7 separate regions of the Homo sapiens genome follow, and regions 1, 3, 4, 5, 6 and 7 are each linked to region 2. The links are contacts of gene promoters, found by promoter capture Hi-C in blood cells and fetal thymus (Javierre and others, 2016). All regions are on one chromosome and are shown on one strand. Each heading gives the region's core, a stretch centred on a gene start or on the middle of the fragment in contact. The rest is flanking DNA. Distances are from core to core; before and after follow the strand shown.

Evidence for each region. Contacts are between HindIII fragments. The CHiCAGO score rates a contact against its expected background, and 5 or more counts as called.
Region 1: a contact is called between a fragment that was not itself captured here and the fragment with the promoter of FBXO8 in region 2, in 2 of 17 cell types (naive CD8 T cells and total CD4 T cells). The highest score is 10.6, in naive CD8 T cells.
Region 3: a contact is called between a fragment that was not itself captured here and the fragment with the promoter of FBXO8 in region 2, in 2 of 17 cell types (total B cells and naive B cells). The highest score is 6.0, in total B cells.
Region 4: a contact is called between a fragment that was not itself captured here and the fragment with the promoter of FBXO8 in region 2, in 10 of 17 cell types (total CD4 T cells, naive CD8 T cells, non-activated CD4 T cells and 7 more). The highest score is 24.4, in total CD4 T cells.
Region 5: a contact is called between a fragment that was not itself captured here and the fragment with the promoter of FBXO8 in region 2, in 2 of 17 cell types (total B cells and naive B cells). The highest score is 8.1, in total B cells.
Region 6: a fragment that was not itself captured here is called in contact with the fragment with the promoter of FBXO8 in region 2 in 9 of 17 cell types (activated CD4 T cells, naive B cells, fetal thymus and 6 more); the score reaches 10.2 in activated CD4 T cells.
Region 7: a fragment that was not itself captured here is called in contact with the fragment with the promoter of FBXO8 in region 2 in 1 of 17 cell types (non-activated CD4 T cells); the score reaches 5.2 in non-activated CD4 T cells.

The regions. Positions count from the first base shown.
Region 1 is chr4:176,214,378-176,217,210 of GRCh38, forward strand. It overlaps ASB5 (ankyrin repeat and SOCS box containing 5), which reads right to left. Exons shown (of 7, transcript NM_080874.4): 6 at 2,441-2,632; 7 at 1-1,350. The coding sequence ends at 1,223. Among named protein-coding and RNA genes, the nearest start is that of SPATA4, 20 kb to the left of the region's middle. The HindIII fragment of the contact is 3,458 bases long and covers 1-2,833 here.
Region 2 is chr4:174,281,895-174,284,944 of GRCh38, forward strand. FBXO8 (F-box protein 8) reads right to left here and starts at 1,773. Exons shown (of 6, transcript NM_012180.3): 1 at 1,516-1,773. CEP44 (centrosomal protein 44) reads left to right here and starts at 2,017. Exons shown (of 12, transcript NM_001040157.3): 1 at 2,017-2,049. RefSeq lists an enhancer at 1,968-2,217 and a silencer at 1,982-2,249. The HindIII fragment of the contact is 4,999 bases long and covers 1-3,050 here.
Region 3 is chr4:176,069,104-176,072,034 of GRCh38, forward strand. The region is part of intron 1 of WDR17 (WD repeat domain 17); the gene reads left to right. Among named protein-coding and RNA genes, the nearest start is that of WDR17, 4.7 kb to the left of the region's middle. The HindIII fragment of the contact is 716 bases long and covers 1,032-1,747 here.
Region 4 is chr4:176,198,406-176,201,278 of GRCh38, forward strand. No RefSeq gene overlaps it. Among named protein-coding and RNA genes, the nearest start is that of SPATA4, 4.3 kb to the left of the region's middle. The HindIII fragment of the contact is 2,153 bases long and covers 318-2,470 here.
Region 5 is chr4:176,011,462-176,014,659 of GRCh38, forward strand. It overlaps the pseudogene MARK2P4. Among named protein-coding and RNA genes, the nearest start is that of WDR17, 53 kb to the right of the region's middle. The HindIII fragment of the contact is 3,642 bases long and covers 1-3,092 here.
Region 6 is chr4:173,012,029-173,014,986 of GRCh38, forward strand. All of the region lies in intron 11 of GALNTL6 (polypeptide N-acetylgalactosaminyltransferase like 6), which reads left to right. Among named protein-coding and RNA genes, the nearest start is that of GALNT7, 160 kb to the right of the region's middle. The HindIII fragment of the contact is 557 bases long and covers 1,276-1,832 here.
Region 7 is chr4:173,148,644-173,151,718 of GRCh38, forward strand. All of the region lies in intron 6 of GALNT7-DT (GALNT7 divergent transcript), which reads right to left. Among named protein-coding and RNA genes, the nearest start is that of GALNT7, 19 kb to the right of the region's middle. The HindIII fragment of the contact is 1,362 bases long and covers 852-2,213 here.

The DNA of each region.
Region 1 (2,833 bases), core at 273-2,772, 1.9 Mb after region 2:
ATCATAATAGGCCCTGAATTACAAAACAGGCATAAAATTTTATTAAGTTTTTTATTGCACTCAAGTATAGTTAAAGCTGAAGAGAATAAACGTAGTATTTACCCTTGCAGAGGACTAGCTTAGTAATATCTTCTTTTATACAATACTCTCTTGCTATTACTTGCAAATACAGTATACTCTAAGCCCTTGTTTTGTGTAAAAAGAATTAGAAACAGTGCGATTAAGTTCTCTATATACATTTTTTAAGGTCTCCAATGTGTTAAGTGGCACCCACTCTTTAAAAACTCCACAATTTGAGTTTTTAATCTTCCATTTTTTTATATCCTTGGACTGATGTGATGATCCCCGGAATATGATCCAGGGCCTGTTTGTTAATTAGATATATAGTTCATTTTCTTAAGTCCAAGTATCACTAGCTATTGACAATTTCTGAAATGGAAGAAGGCTGGAGTAATATGCATATAACCGCCTTGATAAGAGATCATCAGGGGCTACTCCTGAGAAGGAGGCAGTCTTAACATAGCCTTAGAAGGTGTGTAATGTTCTAAATATCTCAGGGTGAGAGGGCAGTATTGACCTTTCATCCTATCACTTTTCTGTAACAAGTCCATGTACTATGGAGAAGAGAAGTGACTTGTGAGTCCTTTGCCAGGGGTAAGTGGGGGAGAGGGGGGCAATTTATCTTTATGAAGTGTTCATTCTAATGACCAGTGGACATTCAACATAGTGGATTTCCTGAATGAGCATCATCCTGGTTTCAGAAAACATATTAGTTGCTCTTTGCTAAGCCATATTCATATTTTATGTCAATATCAGTAACAAGTTAGCCAATTACAATAGCCAAAATTAAAAAGTTAACCCATTAGTTGAAGAACATAGACCTTTTTAAATATAATATGAATAACTTTACTAGGAGCTTTATTTCTTTCCAATCCAAAAGAAAACATAAGATAGTGACTTTATTATTTTTTCCTGAATAAACAGGAGGGTATATTGAAATAACAAAAAATAGATATTATAAATATGCTATAATCCAAAGACAGCATAAATGATAAAACAATAGTACTAATACACTTAAAATGAAAATTGATATTTTACTGCTTCCCTGGGTGATCTCACACTCACTTTTATCCTATCTTTAGCATATTTTTATATGAACTATTCCTTAAGCAAAAGAAATAGAAATTTTGATTTTCAAGGTATTTAGAATTACTTTACTGTTTTATCGATACTGTAAGAAATTCTTCAGTAACGTTGGCAGCTGGAGTTGTGGGATAAGGTGCAATCTTGGTTTTCCTATGTAGCTTCGGATACAGAGTCGGCAAAGTTGGTAAAGAGAGCTTGGGGTAGCTACAAGAAGACATGAATCTATTTGTTAATTAAAATAGAAATGAATTTTTTATGTTGTAAGGTACATAACATAAAACCATAAAAACTACAATGCTTTGTAGTAAACCTAGGATAGCATGACCACTATACTAGGGAAATTTATGTAAGCAGTTATATTGCTTTTATTTATAAGATCTTATTATAATTGAGATATATTCCATATACATTCCTTAAAATATTATAATCCTCAGGCTTAGGAAATAATTGTTGAATTTAAAGCCTCAGAAACAAAGTCTGCTTTTTGAAGGAGATATAAATCAAAAGTCCTGAGAAGTATTATGCACTAAAAGGGGAAATTTTAAAATTAAGTTTAATATTTACCCTAAAAGAAATATTATAGTCCCTGGACTAGGATTAAGAAATCCTATTTTAGAACAAAAGTCTCAAATGTAAAAATATTTACTAATTTTATTTCTATAATATGTTATAGAAGGTTCATGTCCTTATAAAATGGGGCATGCTCCAAATATAAATCAGCAGATATTATACCAGAAGTGCATATAATGCATTACTGAAACTAATTGAATATATTTAACCAAAAATATATGAGAGTTTAGGTAAGATGAAAGAGAAAATTAAAATTATCATTTTTTTTCTTTTTTTTAGATGGAGTCTCACTCTGTTGCCAGGTTGGAGTGCAGTGGCGTAATCCTGGCTCACTGCAACCTCCGCCTCCCGGGTTCAAGTGATTCTCCTTCCGCAGCCTCCTGAGTAGCTGAGATTACAGGCACGCACCACCATGCCCAGCTAATTTTTGTGTTTTTAGTAGAGACAGGGTTTCACCATGTTGGCCAGGATGGCCTTGATCTCTTGACCTTGTGATCCACCCGCCTTGGCCTCCCAAAGTGCTGGGATTACAGGTGTGAGCCACCACACTCGGCTGATATCTTCTTTATAGATAAAACCTAAGTTAAAAATCATCTACTTTCACAAATAATATTCCACATTTTATGCCATTGTTACTTTCCATGCCAACAAAAACTCTCTCACTTTCATCTATTTTAGGCAAATATATTTTGTTTTTGTAAGTTTCCACATGTATTTTTCTTACCTTCATGTTGAAGCAATATCCTTTCCACCATACTGCTAGACGTAGCTACATCTATAGGTCGCAGAAGCTCTGTATTTTTGGCATTGATATCTGCTCCAAATTCTAGCAGTAAGTTTACAATTTCTGTGCTGGATTGTTGAGCAGCAGCATGTAATGGAGTATCCCAATATTTGCCTTTCTGTACGTCAGCACCTACATGTAATACGGAGTGAAGATAAATATAAATAAAAGTTGTTAAATAAGCCAGCTGCCTCAGTGGGGATAGAAAAGGAAAGGCAATAGAGGAAGGTTATTAAGGGGACTTCAACTCTATTTGTTATGAGTTATTTCTTTATATACATATACAGTATCTACATACACATATATGCCTCATATGTACATATACATATATAT
Region 2 (3,050 bases), core at 523-3,022:
AGAAAAAGAAACAGAAATTAAATGCATAATTCTTAGACTTTAGTATTAATGATTTTGATGCATTATCATGGGTCAGTCAATGGAATAGTGCCAGTTTCCAAATCTGAATCAAAATGAGGAAAAAATTAGTTGTACATTAGCAGTTGGTTAAATAATAAACCATAAAGTTACAAATCTGAATGACTAATTTCAACACACTGTGATTAAAGATTTGGTAATTCAATGTTTTTATATTGTAAAATGAGGAAGATATCTTTTAACCTAGCAACAGTAAACACACAAAACATTCCCCATTAAAGTGACCATATGTAATAAATTATGATCAATGTTTTGGCTTATCTAGAAGTTACTATAATATTTTGTGGATGGAAGTAATTGATCCAAGGGCCCCAAGTAATATTAGTTAATTTGCTGTAACTTATTATTAAATGAAGTTACGCTGCACCCTAATTCCTGATGTACAGAAACTGATAATATTTGTTGTTTTAAGCTGGGGTAAATTTGGGGGTAATTTGTTACCCAGCAATAGACAACTAATGAAGTACCTCATCAGACATATTGTCAGGTTAATTGGCTAAAGATGAATTTCTGACCCAATATGAAAAAAATAATAAAACTTATGCATTCTTTATTCTGAAACCTACTCTGTTTCACATATCATTTTCGTGAAGGGTAGAGTTGAGAAGTGTGTAGAGCTCCTACCTCAGAAATACATTACTTCAAACATTAAAAGAAGGAAGAGGAAAGCTGAAATAGAAAACATAAATTGTCTTCACTTTACCGTAATAAAAATCATGATATATTCATTTGTGGATATACACCTAGGAGCCTTGAAAATGAATATTTTACTTGTAAAACAAGTAGAATCAATTATTTTATTAGTAAATTCATACAGAACCTAAAAATAAAACTAAAAAAATTAAATGACTGAGGATTGGGATCCATTTATGTGATTTTGCCAAATAAATATTGAGAACCTTCTACGTAAGAGATTAGAACCCAGTCGCTGAGAAACAAATAAAAGACAAGTTTGACAAGTTTTATAACCCAAGTTTGACTACTGTAGCAGCTAGCAATCCATCGTGATCTTAACTATACTTGTGTTTGCATTCATATTACTGGAAAGTGGTAAAGAACCAAAAACTGTCTAGGAACCAAAATAACACTCGACCCGAAAACCAACACTTGGACCTGAAGAAAGTAACCCTTGTCATTTCTCAGGTTTATTTCACAATGACGCTGGGTTACTACTTGGAGTCCTAAACCGAACTACACCCCAATGGCCTAGAAACAGAAGGAACACACCCAGTTCCGCCTCCTGACAGTGATTCCTCACTTTAATGAGCCACCACTACTGTCACTCAAGATGCTTCGCACTGTCATTGGTCGCAAACTCTTGCTGGTCGGCCAGTTTCGGCCAACTGGCAAGCACTGGTTGTCTTTATTTTCGAGAAAAGTGAAGGTGAACAGGGAAAAGAGACAAGAGATCTAAAATATCTAGGTTGACTCCTGTACCTGAGCGACCTGCGATCTCCACCGCCGCCGCGACGAATTGGCCTCTGGGCGGGGACTTTTAGCCAAAAGGAAAATGGCTCAGCCGGGAACTGGTGCCCAGGCCATGGAGAAGCTGATTCAAACTTTACTTGTCCACACCGGTAGAGGTGACCGCGATGAGAATACCAGAAACAGCACTACGACCCTCAGAACTCAGGGTACCTCCAGCTGCAGGGGCCAGAACTGCCGACTATCCCAATTTTGACGTTTCCTATTGTTGCCGGAAGTGACGTTAGGCTCCGACTCTTAACGGAGACGCATTTTTATTTCTGTTGTTTACGATTCGCTATAGATTCCTTGTTTCTCACTTCGTAGCACGAGCCACTCTGACCATCAAGATCAGAAAAACTTCTCAGCTGCAAGTTAGAAGTGGACTGGCCATTGAGGAGGCTCTCAGCGGAGTCGCTCTTCACAGGAGTCTTGAACGCGGTGTGGAATCGGCAGCGAGGAATCCTGGAGCACAGAGAAGCTCCCAGCTTTGAAGGTCTTGCGGTGGTGCGTGGCGGGCAGGAACCCACAATTCCAAATACAAACGGTCGGCGCGAGAAGCGCTTCTGGGCGCAGGCGCCTGGCTGTAGCGACTGGTTGCGGGAGGCTGGACTCTGGTGACTGTGTATGGTTGCATATGCTCCGTTTTCCTCTCCCTGTCGTGCTGGGCCTTTGAAACCGGCTTCTTTGCTGGTGGCTGCTTGGTGAGCCCCGAGGAGACGGCAAGGCTGCGCCTGGTATTGGGCGGAGGTCGCCTCTCTCCGCCGTCCTTACAGAGACCCCGGGCGGAGACGAATGACCAGATCCGCCTTTTCATTCTTTTAAATCAAATGGCGGGAGGGGAGCCTTGCTTATATACCCAACTAGTATATGCTTTTAGTCACAACGAAGTGGGAAGTATCGTGGTAGCTCATCCTATCAGAATTAGGTTGTGACTTAGGGTTGGAAAGTTATAGGCTTACTGATTCCTATTGGATCCTCTGGGGTGAGGATACAAACGGCTCCTGACTATAAGGAAGACAGGACAGCAGTTCGTGTTTTCCTTGTTGGCATTTCCCCAGCTTTTCAAATATTTCTCCACCTTTATTGAAGGCTACAGATTTTTCCCTCACTGTAACAAGTTAATCTTGAAGTTGTTATTCTCTTTTACTCTGGAATTATGGCCATGCTAGACTGTTTTTTTCCCGAATTATCTGCAGACCTTTTAATTTTATGTGTGAACACAGCAGTCCCGTTGAACTCTTTACTTGTCCCTTACTCCTCCCCACTCCCGCCCAGCTTTCTCGATGCTTTGCCTTTCTCAGACCTTTCTCCTATCTCTTAGAGAAGTATTTCCCTAATATCTTTTGCAGTTTCATAAACTGTTTTTCTCATCTTTACTTTTTTGTTTTTGATACGTGTTTTTAGATAATATCGAGCATTATGTGCTATGTCACAAACTCTTAGCCATTGACTGTTATTAGAGTCAGTGTAGTTGCTTCATTCTAAACAAAAATCACTCTGGTCCA
Region 3 (2,931 bases), core at 140-2,639, 1.8 Mb after region 2:
TTCAGTGACTAGACAGGTATAATTTCAGTGACTAGTCAAACATTTCAAATAGGCTAGATTTTGTAAGAAAAAAAAAGAACTTGATATTGGAGCCACAGCTGGCACCTGCCTTCCAGATGTCACATTATCAGCTACTTGAGGAAAATAATTTATATATATATATTGATAAAAGTCTTACTTTTTATTATGTTAAATGTACTTACAAAGTATTGTTCAGTAAGCTGTCTTATAAAATTCTGTAATTCTACATTCTAATTTAAAAAATGTACTGTAGAAATAGACAGTAATATAAATCTATAATTAAGATAATACAGGAGGTAATTTAACAATGTTATTTGCTATGATAAGGATGATTGATAATTGTCATGTTCGGATAAATTGTAGCAAAAGTGTAAGAAATAAATTTCCATGTGTCAGTGAAGATGTTATAACAGTCAATACTTGTTTTGTACATTCAAATGTTCTGAGATGGAGAACTCAAGATTGAGGTCCTTAAACAATTTTTCTTATGCTTAGGTTTATTGTTTTCTTCTTCCAGATTCTTCCCATTTTTTTTAGTTGTAAGCATGTACCAGTGTCCCAGGCAGACTCATTTACAATGATGTGTAGTAAGTTCAATTTCATATCACGCACACAGAAAACTTACTTTCAAATCGGAAAGTAGAAAATAATTTTTATTACACAAAGCACTCGTGTTTAACATGCTATTAAAAAAACCCTTCATTACAATACAAACAGCTCCACATGGAGTCTCAAAAAAATGAATAGTTGGTTAATAAGAAATAGCTAACATTTAATTAAGTTTGATTCTTTAAGATAAAACATTATGGATGACTTTTAATGAAAAGAGTTATGCAACATTTTATTTTTAAGGTAAACAGGTTTGAAGGGGTCATTTTGGAATTTATGATAGAAGGATCCTTAAGACCAGTTACTCTAACACCGTTATTCTGTTAATGAGGACACTAAACACATAAAAATTATGTTCTCAAAATTAATAAGGGAAAAGCTGGCTTATGTTCTACTTCTGAAGCTTTACTTGGGAGTACCATGAACTACTAAATAAATGAATTTATTCCTGAAAATATAATAGTGGATACGTTTCGTTAACATTTATATATCAATAGTAGCTTTTTGGGCATAATGTCTCACCTTCAAAATTAATTCATTAGCTCATGTTTAGGGGGAATTTTATGTTGGCTCAGAGCGTAATATTTGACTTAGGCAGACTAATATGTAGATTACCAACCTATCAGATCTGTGCCTGGGCCCTACCTTAGGTAATACAGCCCTTTACTTAGCAAATTAAAATCAGACTTATTTCAGGCCTCTGTCAATATATTGAATGCATATATTGAAGAAAGTTTCGAGTTTAGTTAGTTTATGTAGATCCTTTTTTCCCTTTTTTTCCACTTCTTTTTTCTTTTCTTTTTTTCTTCTGAGACAGGGTCTCCTGCTGGAGTGCAGTGGTGTGATCATGGCTCACTGCAGCCTTGAACTCCCAGGCTCAATCAATCCCCCCACAGCAGCCTTCTGAGCAGCTGGGACTACAGGCACGCACCACCACTCTTGGCTAATTTTTTTTTTTTTTACTTTTCGTAGAGAAGACAGCTCACTATGTTGCCCAGGCTGATCTGGAACTCCTGGGCTCAAGCGATCCACCCAACTTGGCCTGCCAAAGTCCTGGGATGCATGAGCCTCTGTGACTGGCCCTGTTTTTGTTTTTGTTTTTGTTTTTTAATATTCAAGCTTCTAAGCATCCATTTGATTTTCTTTGCTGGTTTTCCCAAACTGACTTGCCAAAATAATTTTTAACACCTTTTCCCAGAACATGAATATGCCAGCATTAAGTGACTTTCTGCCCAATGGGGAATCCTAAGTTTGATAGACAGATAAGCATGAAGGCTCATCCTGCTTCAAAAACTCACATACAAAACCCAACTCACAAACCAGGTTAATTAGAAGGGGAGCGAGGGTCCTGGGGATTACATAGCAATTTATGGCAGAGTTCCTCAAGTCTTTTTTTTTTTAATGAGCAGTGATTCTATTTATAAAAATAGGGGTATACTTTTTGCCACACCCTGTTGAAGAAATAATCTTGTATCTTTTTATGACAAATATTTACTTATTTCCTTCCATAGTGTTCTCGCAATGGAATATTTACTTCAAAAATTCTTAGTTTATAATTGAAAATATGTGATTTCTCCCTTTTCTTTTTTCTTTTCTCTTTTTTTTTTGAGACAGAGTCTCACTCTGTCGCCCAGGCTGGAGTGCAGTGACACGATCTAGGCTCACTGCAACCTCCAGCTCCCGGATTCAAGCAATTCTCCTGCCTCAGCCTCCTGAGTAGCTGGGATTACAGGCGCAGGCCATTATGCCCAGCTAACTTTTTTATTTTTAGTAGAGACGGGGTTTCACCATGTTGGTCAGGCTGGTCTCAAACTCCTGACCTCGGCCCACCTTGGCCTCTCAAAGTGTTGGAATTACAGGCGTGAGCCACCACACCCGGCCTTTCCCTTTTCTATTATTCTTTGGATACCTCTCTCAGAATGGTCACAATGAAAGTATATGAATGAGCTTGTTGAAGTAGATGTGGATTACTTCTTTGATCAAATCAAAAATTATTTCCATGTTGCAGCACAAAACGTTCTGTAATCCTCTAAGCATCTGGGTAAGTCTAGTTCCAGGATTCAAATCCATATAATTTTCATTTTCATGGCTAAAATGGAGGAAAGTATAAAAATATATGTAAATAGATAATAAAGGTAACTCCATTCATCTTTCTGTATCTTTGAATCGGTGTCTTGCTCTTTTGATGTTCAGTGTTTGGTCTTAGATATAACTCCTGTGTTTTGTTGACCAAGATGGAATTCATACTGGTATAAGTGGTCATTTCGTGAGTCCAAAGTAGAACTGCCATAATGACCTCAT
Region 4 (2,873 bases), core at 144-2,643, 1.9 Mb after region 2:
AAGTGCAGCAATTACAGGCATGAGCCACCACGCCCAGCTAGATTGGGGCTTAATTGTAAACAGTTTTGCTAAAGAGTTGGAAATCTTCCTGTAATCAGTGTGCCAATTGTTAAGCAAATACATCCCTGTTAGAAACACTCCCTTCTCTGTTCTCAGTTCTGTGATGCCGGAGTTGGAACGCTGCGGCATTTTCTCCTTTGCTGGGTGGATGGTAAATTCTGCCAATATGGGGAGTGAGAGAGTGGCCAGGAGGTGGGGAGCAGGGATTTGCTATTTCTCTGCTTGCTGTTCAAGCCCCTGTGTAACCATGGCAACAAAGCTTCACCTGGCCGGGGCAATTGGTTCCAGTCTCCAGTATGGTTGGTTGGTTGGTTTGTTTGTTTAGCACTCCTGGTGCAAGTTTCATCATATTCTCTCCGAGGTTTTAGCAACCACCAAGAAGTGGCCCTCCTTGGAAGTCTGAGACCCAATTTTACTCTCGGACAGCTCATGTGAGCTCCTGAAGTATTAGCACCAGCTGTGTACGCCCCATCCTCAAGTCTAAGTCTTGAGGCTCTTAAGCCTCCAACTCTTACGTTCTTATAACTTCAACTTCTTCCCTGGGGGTGGTAATTGCTTCCTGAAGTGTCTAGCTCTGTGTTAATTTGATGGTCCCATTTTAGTTTTTCGGTTCTTCAACACCACCAGTTCCTTATAAAGCCGATGCAGGTTTGAACCACAGGATTTGGAACTGCACGGGCCCACTAATATGTGGATTTTCTTCCACCTCTGCCAACCCCAAGACAGCAGGACCAATCCCTCCTCTTCCTCCGTCTCCTCAGCCTACTCAGTGTGAAGACAAGGATGAAGACCTTTCTGACGATCCACTTCCACTTAATGAATAGTTAATATATTTTCGCTTCTTTATGATTTTCTTAATAACATTTTCTTTTCTCTAGCTTACTTTATTGTAAGAATACAGTACATAATATATATCACACAAAATATGTGTTAATTGATGTTTATGTTATTGGTAAGACTTCCAACAGTAGGCTATTAATAGTTATGTCTTTGGGGAGTCTACAGTTGGGTTTTCTACCATGCAGGACGTCGGTCCCCCTAATCTTAATGTTGTTCAAGGATCAGCTGTTAAAATTCTTGCTGTTGAATACCTGGAATTAGTTCTGTTTTCCTGATTGGATGCTGAATGACATATTGCTTGGTACCTGGAGTGAGGTTTTTCTCTACCACTAGCTCACCTGCATCTTTCTAAAGTATCTAAGGAACTTGCTTCTTCCTGTTCATGAGGTCGACTCAGCAGGATATCATCAATATAGTGGACTAGTGTGATGTTCTATGACATGTTAAGACACTCAAAAATCTCTGCCAATCTTGTGGCAAAGAGCAAGAAAATTGATCTGAACCTAAGGCAATAGCTTGAATGTGTGCTATAGATCCTGATAGATAAAAGCAAACTGCTTTTGGTGGTTTTCGCAGACTGTTATGGAGAGGAAAAAGTACATTCCAGATTAACAGCAGAATAACATTTGCTGGGGACTGTAGAAATTCATTCCAGTAAAGACACTTCAGGCCAGGTGAGGTGGCTCACACCTATAATTTAGCCCTTTGGGAGGCCGAGGCGGGTGGATCATTTGAGGTCAGGAGTTTGAGACCAGCCTGGCCAACATGGTGAAACCCCCTTCTCTACTAAAAATACAAAAATTATCCAAGTGTGGTGGCATGCACCTGTGGTCCCAGCTACTCGGAAGGCTGAGGCAGGAGAATTGCTTGAACCTGGAAGGTGGAGGTTGCAGTGAGCCAAGATCATGCCACTGCACTCCAGTCTGGGTGATAGAGTGAGACTCCATCTAAAAAATAAAAATAAAAAATAAAAAATAAAAAAAAAGACACTTCCAATGGAAAAGCAGCTGTAATTGGAGTTAATTAAGTCTACAGTAATCCACACTCATTCATTAGGATTCCTCTAACCTGCATAAGCCAAACAGACTTTACAGCTCACAGCATAGGAAGCAGCGTGAGCTCTGTTCATGCTAGTACTTCTTGCCCACAGGTGTCTCGGGATGACGTGAAGAGGCTGAGGTGGAAGCCTCACACACCATGGGTTTACATCACAGCTGAGGAATCCCAACCTTAGGGAAGCCCAGTCTTTTATAATGGGCTGCAAGGAAAACTGCCAAATCTTTGCCCTGGAGGGAAACATTGTTCTTACGATACTGGTCAGTAAACAAACCTGCAGTCTCCTCTGAAGGAAGATACTATATTTTTTAACACTGTTCACTATATGAACATCTTTAAAAAGATGTTCTGAAACAAAAGCTGCCAGGGCATCTGCTTGCAAGATGCACAGAAATGCAAACAACTCAAAATGGATGGGTATACCAAAAAGCATTACAAATCCATTTCCATTTCCTGATCTTTACTCCCCGTTTTGGTTGCAGCATTGAACTGCTTCTGTCTTCATCTGTATTTAAGCTTAACTTCTTGAGGAGTCTCATCATAGAGCAAAATAGTATTTCATAATTATCATCAGACTGTGGTTTTTCAGAAGTGGCTATACTGAGAGGCTCTGGCCCAGATTCTAAGGCACTCCTGATGGAGGAAATAATTTTAACACTCATACCAACTCTGAACAGTTTTTCTAAGTTGAAAGGCGTAGCAATAAGAATGCAGTACACTAAACATATGAATTGAAAATATGGTCGATATTTAGGCAATCATAACTATAAACTTAAATAAGACTACATCTACTTAAATTACTATTTAAATATTTTATACTCAATATTGGTATCAAATTCTTAAAAAGCGACTACAAGGCCAAGTGCGATGGCTCACACCTTTAATCCCAGCATGTTGGGAGGCCGAGGCAGGAGGAC
Region 5 (3,198 bases), core at 22-2,521, 1.7 Mb after region 2:
TTTGGTTTGGATTCGTTTTTGCTCATTTGTTTCAGTTTTACAAAGACTGAAGTGGTTGTTTCACAAAATATATATTGTACAGATAGTACCCTCAGGCCTTATTTTCCCAGCCAGAAACACCAACACAACAGCTTCCAAATGCAGTCTCCTTTACAATTCATTAATTTTTGTTCTATTCCTAGGATGGCCTCACTGGGCTTTGGTTTCCCTTGAGGAAAGTGATTTTCTTTTGTGGTTTGCAGTTGAGTCACAAGAGAATTTTGAAGGGTTTTGAGCCTCCCCGTTGCAAAGCTGTAGGTAAGTGTCTTGTGACAGCTATAGCAATAAAGCAGAGTGGTTTTCCTTAACATTTAAATGCAATAATTAGCATATGTTGTTTTAAATTGTGTGTGTGTGTGTGTGTGTGTGTGTGTGGGTGTGTGTGTGTTTTATATTTACAGAACCATGTTCTCGAAGCAGTCCAGTCTCTAAAGTTTCACCAGGTGGGGCAGAGTGCCAGGCCTATGACTAGGGCCAGAGGTCTCTCCTCTTGTCTCTCTGATGAATACTGGCAGTTCCCCAGGCTTACCAGTTATTCTGGAGATAATGCTTTTGAAGGCCTCAAAGGTGCTGAATATCATCTTAATTTGAACCCCACAGAAAGAGTTTGGACACCTCCATTCTTCACTGCACAAAGCTCTCTTGACCAGGCACCTGGCTGATCTCTGGCATCTCGGTGGGCTACACGGAGCTCATGGTCTTCATTCTCCAGGTAAAACCAGGGAGCACAGCTTGAACTCCTGACATTCTTTCTTGATTTTATCACTGCCTCTCCTGCCTCTGCTGCCCATCTTTTTATGTCTGATATGCACTGCTTTCAGCTTTATGCTGTTATGTTTCTGGCCAACTGGAAACATACATATCTGCAGATCAATGGTGAGGAACCTCCCAGTGCCCCACTGCAGGGTCTGGCTGTTATCAGAAGAGGCTGGGGGTCTCATCCTCAAGCATATTTTGCTGGTTGTGCACCTTTCCGAACTGCCCAGAGTGAAGGGATTTTCATCTGGAGGAGAGACCCTGGAGGAAATCAGTTTCAACTTGGGCTCCACCAATGCTGCCAGCATTGTGGGTAGAGAGGGAGGCCACAGGGCCATACTGGAGGGCTATGCTGTAAGGAGGTGGTCTTCACCTCTAGGCAGATTAGGTGACCAGCAGGCACTTTCACAGAGCCACTGGCCTTCCACTCTGACTCCTGGTTCTGCCCGGACCACTGAATTCTTGTGGCACTCTGACTACATTTTTGAAAAAATTTAATGAGTTCATGTGAATATTCAGTGATTCATGGATTGGGTAGCAGCAGATCACAAGTGGTTCAGTGCCCCACAGAAGGGGTCATAAGGGGACTTTTTAAATAAATTCAACTTTTATTTTAGATTCAGGAGTACATGTGCAGGCGTGTTACACCGGTATATTGTGTGATGCTGAGGTCTGGGCTATGAATGATCCTGTTGTCCAGGTAGTGAGCACAGTACCCAATAGATGGCTTTCAGCCCTTTTGCCTCTAATATATGTCTACTATATATATAAACATTATACATATAAATATATAATATATATATTTTTTTTCAGCCCTTTCCCGTCTAGTACCTGTCTACTATACCCATCTTTATGTCCATGTGTACCCAATGCTTAGCTCTCACTTACAAGTGACAACATGTGATACTTGGTCTTCTGTTCCTGCATTAATTTGCCTAGTATAATGGCCTCCAGCTGTATCCATGTTGCTGTAAAGGACATGATTTCATTTTTTGCGGCTGCATAGTATTCTAGTGTATATGTAGCACATTTTATTTAACCTATTCACCACTGATGAGCATCTAGGCTGCTTCCATGTCTTTGCTATTCTTAGAGTGAGAATTAAAGGTGGGAATGGCAGGCTCATTGAAACTCTGCCGCTTTGAGGTGGCAGAGATCTCATGCTATACCTTGCAAGTGAGGAAGGAGTACAGCTGTTGGTGGGATGAGCTGAAGCCGAGGCTTGAGGATAATGGGGTAGTGCTCCATCTCAGATCTCTCGTAGCCCAGGAGCAGATGGATGGTCATTGCTTTGGCATAATTCTGACCCATTAACAAGCTCTGAATCTCTTCGCACGTATAAGCCATGGGCATTATCTCAGTCTGTCAGGGATTCTTAAAAGCAGGAAGTGGTCAATGTAAGAGTTTAGATTTCAGTTCCTCCTCGTGGTCCATGTTCATCCACGGATGCTTCATGATTTCCTCTAAAGTGCCTCTCCTGCGAGAGTTGAGGACAAGAAATTTCTTGAGCAGGTTTTCACACTCCATGGGCATATAGCAAGAAATACCAGATATTCTTCTCAATATCTACTCTGGCAACTCCTTGAAGTTCTGTCTATCACAAGGCAGCAGGGGCACACTGAGCAGCCGATAGAGGATAACTGCCAGTCTTTACTCATTCACTAGCAGCTGTTGTACTTTGGGCCCTGGAAGAGCTGTGGGGCAATATAAAGAGGGCTGCCACAGAGGGCAGCTAGCTTGTTGCCAAAGGTGAATTTGTTGTGAAGCTAGCCTACAATGTCAGCTGTGCAGATGTTCTGCCCACAGGTCTCTAAGGACCATACACCTCTGGTGGTAACACTGCACAATAGGCACTTCATGGCAAAATTCGCCTTGTGCTTTTTTCTCTTTCATGCTGCCATCAGCCACCAGGTAATGGAACACCCCCTCCTCCACCAACATACTCCACAATACTGTAGAGGATTTTCTTAATGTCAATCACTTCAGATAATTTCACTATGGTGGGTTGATTCAAGGCCTTCTTGATTTGGTTTTTCTGGAACAGTCACAGGAGGCTGGGGGAGTTCTGCTGAGTCTTACTGATGGTCTTTGCAGCCACCTCTTTCCCAGTGAAAATGTGCCACACCAATTTCACCTTGGTGAAGTTACCCCCACTGATGGAGCCAGTCGACTAAGGAGCCAGTCGTTGCCATTATGGGTCTCTTCCTGAATAGAGATGGCTGAGAGGCACTGCAGCATGTTGGGCTTATAGGCAAGTTGTCACAAAGTCAGCTTACAATTGGGAAAAGCTGGTGAGAAGCTTGGTCCAAATCGCATCAACAGAAACTCAGGCCCAGAGTCTACCCAATGAACTGGTCATTGAGAGGAATCAAAACACAACACCAAACAAAAATAAAAAGTACC
Region 6 (2,958 bases), core at 304-2,803, 1.3 Mb before region 2:
GAGTAGCTCAGACCACAGGTGCATACCACCAAGCTCACCTAACCCTTTTCACTGTTTTAATTTTAAATTAAGAAATATTTCAATAGAAAGCTATAGAAAATATCATAGCAGATATTTATGTACTCATCACACTCATCTCTTATGAAAAGCAAAAAAGCAAGCAAGCAGTTCCCAGTAAGGCGTTACTGCCTCCTATAGCCAGATTCCTCTGGTGCCCATCTTGTACATTAAACTAGAAAAGGTCCACCATGCCCAGCGCAGGATGTTAAAGAGTTGTCCAGATGTGTTGAGATTCACCTCCCTCGCCCCACCTCACTGCCCCTCCCTGCCCTCTACCACGCATTACAATGCAGAGCATCATGATGCGAGGAAAACAGCCACAGAACAAGTCCACAATACAATCCAGAGATGTTCAGTCCATCAACAGTGCCTCTCCCCTAACCACTGATCCAATCTTTGAACCCTCTCCCCACAGCCTCATGGTATTCTAGGAGGACTGTGGGCCTTGTAGCCAGGCCAACCTGGATTTTAGTTTAAACCATGTGGCCTTGTGAAGTTGTGAAATCTTTCTAGGCCATAGTTCTTCCATCTTGGACAGGGTGGTTAGGAGAATAAATCTTGGGGCAGCATCTTGCACATGCAGCAGGTGCAGAGTAATATCCTCTCCCTCCTGCCTTCCTTCTCTCAAACACTCACAAATCCCTTTATGCTAATACCAAATTAGAAACCTCTCTCAGGTCCAAGGCAGCTGGGACTTTGGCTTCATTTATCTGTTCCCAGCATAGTCAGCAAATACTAGTTATTATTCACTCAAATGCGCCCTGCATGGCTGGGCACGGTGACTCGCGCCTATAATCCCAGCACTTTGGGAGGCTGAGGCGGGTGGCTCACTTGAGGTCAGGAGTTCGAGACCAGCCTGGCTAACATTTTGAAACCCCGTCTCTACTAAAAATACAAAAATCAGCCAGGCGTGGTGGCTGATTATATACATATATCCAGAGGGGTTTATAGAAGGCTCTGTGACTCCCAGATTTATTGATAGGAATCAAATATCAGTGAAAAGTTATTTGCCTCCTCCTTCCTCTGTCTGTTTCTATAAGCTCCATGGGGATGTTACTGGGGACCTGAGGAATGGTGTTGGACTGTTAACTCCAACAAGCAATTCTGACTTCAGCCTGGGAGCAAGAGAGAAGGCTTTAGAAGCTATCGGTAAGGCTGGCATCTAGAGTGGAAAAGAACTTTTTTAAAAAGAAAAAGGAGGAAACCATAAGGAAAAGCTTCATTTCTTGGGCTAAATTCCTCTCTACCATCTCTATTCAACCCAACTAAGAAACACACATGGCCAGCTGGTGAATATAAAGCAGGCCTTAATGTCTGAACTGGGCTTAGTATTTCTATCCAGTAATGCTCTAGAATGAAATCTTCTCTGGCCTGCAGATTTTATTTGACAGCGGAACATGGATATAAACAAAGGCAACGATATTGCATACACTTTAAAAATTGCTGGTTCACTCCCCGCACCCCCCACGTCCCCCAACTCCCCACCTCCCACCCCCAGGCTAAAATGCAAAAATCTATGGCCCGTAATTCAAGAAATGGTCACCAGAGGGCAGCACTAGACAAGCAGAAAACTACATAGGCAGAACAGAAAGACCAGTTAATACAGCTCTTTAAAAAGATTTCCTGTCTCTAGAGATCCTAAAAATGAAGCTACAGTAGGATTAAATAAGGTTGATAAGTGGTGGAAAATGCATCATGTTTGAAATATTGCCATATATTGACTTGGAGGTTAAAACATTACAAGCTGTTTCATTCACCAGTAATTAACTGTAAGCTTTATTCAATATATCACTCAGTGACTTACAAGAATTAGGAAGCACTCTTCTACATTTAGATTAAAATTCCTGCATGAGGAAGGCATATCGGAACATGACAATTATGGATTTTCTTTTTAATTCAAAAACATTCAAAAAACACAAAAGGAGACTTATTAGAGTTGAAATAATCCGTTTTTTTCCAAAAAAAAAAGTGGCAAAAATTAAAAAAAGGAAAAAACAAAATTGTTACATGGGAAATAAAAAAGAGTCCATTGAAGGACCTGTATAAGAAAATGCCTTCTGCTGCAGAACACTGGTGGTGACTAACGTGGTTTCTGTGAAGGAAGCAAATGTATGATTCATTTTGCCAGGGCAATCTGCATAGCTGTTTGATATCATGGTAGCATTATGCTTCCTTTAGGGATCAAGAAAGAAAAACAAAAATAGATCCTAATAAGACTATAAGGTCTGGAAAGAACATTCCCCAGCTCCCATTGAGTCCAAGGGAGAGGAGTGGCGGGGAGGAACCCCCTTGGTCTAGTTTGGCTGTTCCCACTCTGCAGGCCCAGCAGCAGGCTCTGATGTCATGCTGGGGAGCAAGTGTTGCAGCCCAGCTTTCGTCCTCCCGAGGAAGCAAACACTGGCTCCCTCTCCAGGGCCTAGGGGAAGGTTCACAAAGACAGAAGCAAGCAAATGTGTGCATCCAGGGGACAGATTTTTTTCCTTTCTTTTTTCTCTCTTTGGGAAAAAAGAGTCTCATTATCAAGACAGAGCGAACTGATGGGTGCAAACTGCAAGGAGAAACATGCTGTATCTCAGGTTTCTGCAAACCTCATAACAATGAAATAAAACATCACAATCCAGACAGAGAAAAATATTTTCTGCTGTCTCAAGTCAGGTAGCAAGAGCAAGAGATAAGTGTATTGGCAGTACCAAATCCAGTGACCTTATTCATATAATACAAACGGACCCAGGCAACATGACACATATCACATTAATATTAAAGCAAAGAAATAAGAGTTAACATTGTGATATGGTTTGGCTGTGTCCCCAAATCTCATCTTGAATTGTAGTTCGCATAATCCCCATGTGTCATGGGAGGGACCCAGTGGGAGGTAATTTAATCATGAGGGCAGTTACC
Region 7 (3,075 bases), core at 283-2,782, 1.1 Mb before region 2:
GTTATTGAGAGAGGTTGTGCTATTATTAAAATCACTTGTGCTCACATTCTGAGTGTTCAATAAATGCAAGTTTATGGCAACTCTAAATGGCAAAGTTCCTCTTTTGATGTTCTGATCCAAAAGTATGAGAATGTATATTTAAAATGATGTAGAGTTTTTTTTTAATTGTCTACTTGCCCTAGGCAGGTGTGAATTCTTATTCATAGCACCTTCTCTGTGCAATTGACATTTTTAAAACCTATCAAGTAAATCTTCACTTTAAAATTTACATATGTAATTCTATGAATTCAACAGTCACTTGAGACTATTTGAAGAAAAGAGAAATGTAATGAAAAATTCTGATTTCTAATGCTGAGATTTAAAAATTAAAGAAGCAAAATAAGTCTCAAGCCTCAAAACCAACAGATTAGAACTGCTATTTTCCCTAACCCTTGATTGATTTACTTTGGTTATTAAGCATTAAATGACTTATGAAATCAGACATCACTTATTTCTTTGCAATCATTTATCTAATTGACCTATTTCTAGGCAAGAGACATAATTCTAGTCACTTGGTAGGCTTTATATGGGCAATTGGTGGCTGAAATTTTATTTCTGGCTCAATTAAGGAATTTAAATACACTATTTCCTCTTGATAACGTATCTAATTTAGGATCTTCTCAATCATTAGGTTATGTCATAGGATTTTATTTAGATTGCATTAACTATTAACCTTCTGTTTTCCCAAACTTGGTTAAAAATAATTCTGATTTGTTGTACAATTCTACCTATATTTCACTTTGCCTTATCTCTGTGCTCCCAAATTGCTGCTTCCCAAATTTTCCTTCTTTTATTATACATGTACCATAAAAAGCTTCAGAGGTAGCTATGTTAATCCTTCCTTCCTCCCTTCCTTCCTTCCTTCCTTTCCTTCCTTCCATCTTTTTTTTTTTAAACAGAAAAATTCACCACAGTGAATCATGGCAGTAATCTTCCTTGATAAGTTCATAATGTGAGCCATTGTAGCATCAAATTAAAGATACCTAGAAAAGCAGTGTTTTTAGGCAATTCTAATCAAAGAGAGTATTTGAAAATACTAATAAAGTATGACCTTCAATTTTTTGTTAAAAGTATTAGTGAGAAGAATGGTTAAGAAAAAGAAACACCTTCTGTAACTATTCATTATGCCATCAGATTCTCCAAGCTCTAAGTGCTCTAAGGGCAGGATTCTGTATCCTCACAGTCTGATACAACTAGTCACTCAATACTTACTGAATACATTTATCAATAAAATCTTATGTGAATGGTAACAGTTATGACTCATTTGCATATTTTGAATAAAAGCGGAAACCTTTCCATGTTGATATATGAAAAATTGTGTATAGCATTTAAGAAGCAAGCTATACAAATGCTTTTAATACTATGAATGAAGTCTGTTTTTTGAAAAAAGCAATGGACATTCTTAGAAAGTTTTCTGGGATCTAGTCTATTGGTTGATTTTCTTTAACCTGTGCTGACAGAAAACTGCCTAATCACACTGAAAATGTCTCCTTCTGATTAAAAGTTTCATTTTTGGAATGCAATTTGCTACCTGTTCCTTTTCTGATTACCAAAAGACTAATTCTCCAAACAAGAAATGGTTCATGACTCTTATAACTTTATTAGACAAATAAATGTTCTATTTAGAACATTTCAGAAGAAAACAGAAATGTGTTGGATTTCAAGCATTTTATTTAAAATTGTGTCAATAAAAATGCAGGAAATGGGCTGGGTGCAGTGGCTCACACCTGTAATCCCAGCACTTTGGGAGGCCAAGGCAGGTGGATCACCTGAGGTCAGGAGTTCGAGTCCAGGCTAGCCAACATGGCGAAACCCCGTCTCTACTAAAAATAACAAAAATTAGCTGGGCATGGTGGTGGGCGCCTGTAATCCCAGCGACTCAGGAGGCTGAGGCAGGAGAATCGCTTGAACCCAGGAGGCAGAGGTTGCAGTGAGCCAACATCGCACCATAGCACTCCAGCCTGGGCAACAAGAGCGGAACTCTGTCTCAAAAAAAAAAAAAAAAAAAAAAAAAAAAAAAGCAGGAAATGCATTATTCTCATTTTTGCAGTATGATGGAATGGAATAAATTAAACAGGTTTACAAAGTTGCCCACATTACTTTAACATCTTCTAACATTTTTATAGCACATCCCACCGTAATATATTTATTGTTATAGTTCCCACTTGTTTGCAAGCTTCTCAGAGGCAAGGAACAATGTCCTCAATTTGTATCACTGGTACAACGCCTAGCACATAATATGCACTTATATTTTTGAGCAAAAATTAATTTGGTACCTGTACTATAAAACCGAAATTAGTTCTAAGTCTTTAAAAAATAACATTAAAAACCAAAAATTCTCTTATTGTTGGATATAACCCTGAGATCAACTTGGTTGTTTATTAAAACATTAAGCAGTGTGCATAATACCTGTTTGTAGACAGGCCTAGTTGCTTATTTTGTTGTGTCCTACTTTCAGCGAGATTACTGTAAACGAGGCCCACAACTTCATTTATAATCACCACAACTCTAAGTGTGTAACAGGCAAGCACTCAATAAATATTAACTTGTACGTTGAATGTTCAACAGTGCTTAGCACAATGTGGTACATGCCCTTGAATATACCAGATATTCAGTAAACATACATTAAATAAATCGAAGAATAGCATCCAGTAAGAGAGCACTGGCTTCTCTTTCCCCAGTCTACTTTTAGGAAAACAGATATATGTGCATTCTTAACAGTATCAGATAGGATGAGGCAAGGGACTCTAAACTGAACTCTGTATATTCTGGTGTGTTAAGCTAATCCTGGTGCTCTCTGTAGCTCTCCACACATAGTCACCTGATAGTCTGTTTTTCTCCCCTGCCCACTGTCTTTAGGATTGCCTCGAAAACCCTGGGTTTAGCTACTGCCTACCCTGGAATACTCACTCCAGCCATCCGGATTTCTTCCTATCACTGTAACTCATCTCAGGCATTCTGCACATTCTCCTTTCCACTCTATCCCCTTGCTTGGGTAATATCTGTGCATCTGCCAGTGTCCTCTTGAATGGCTCT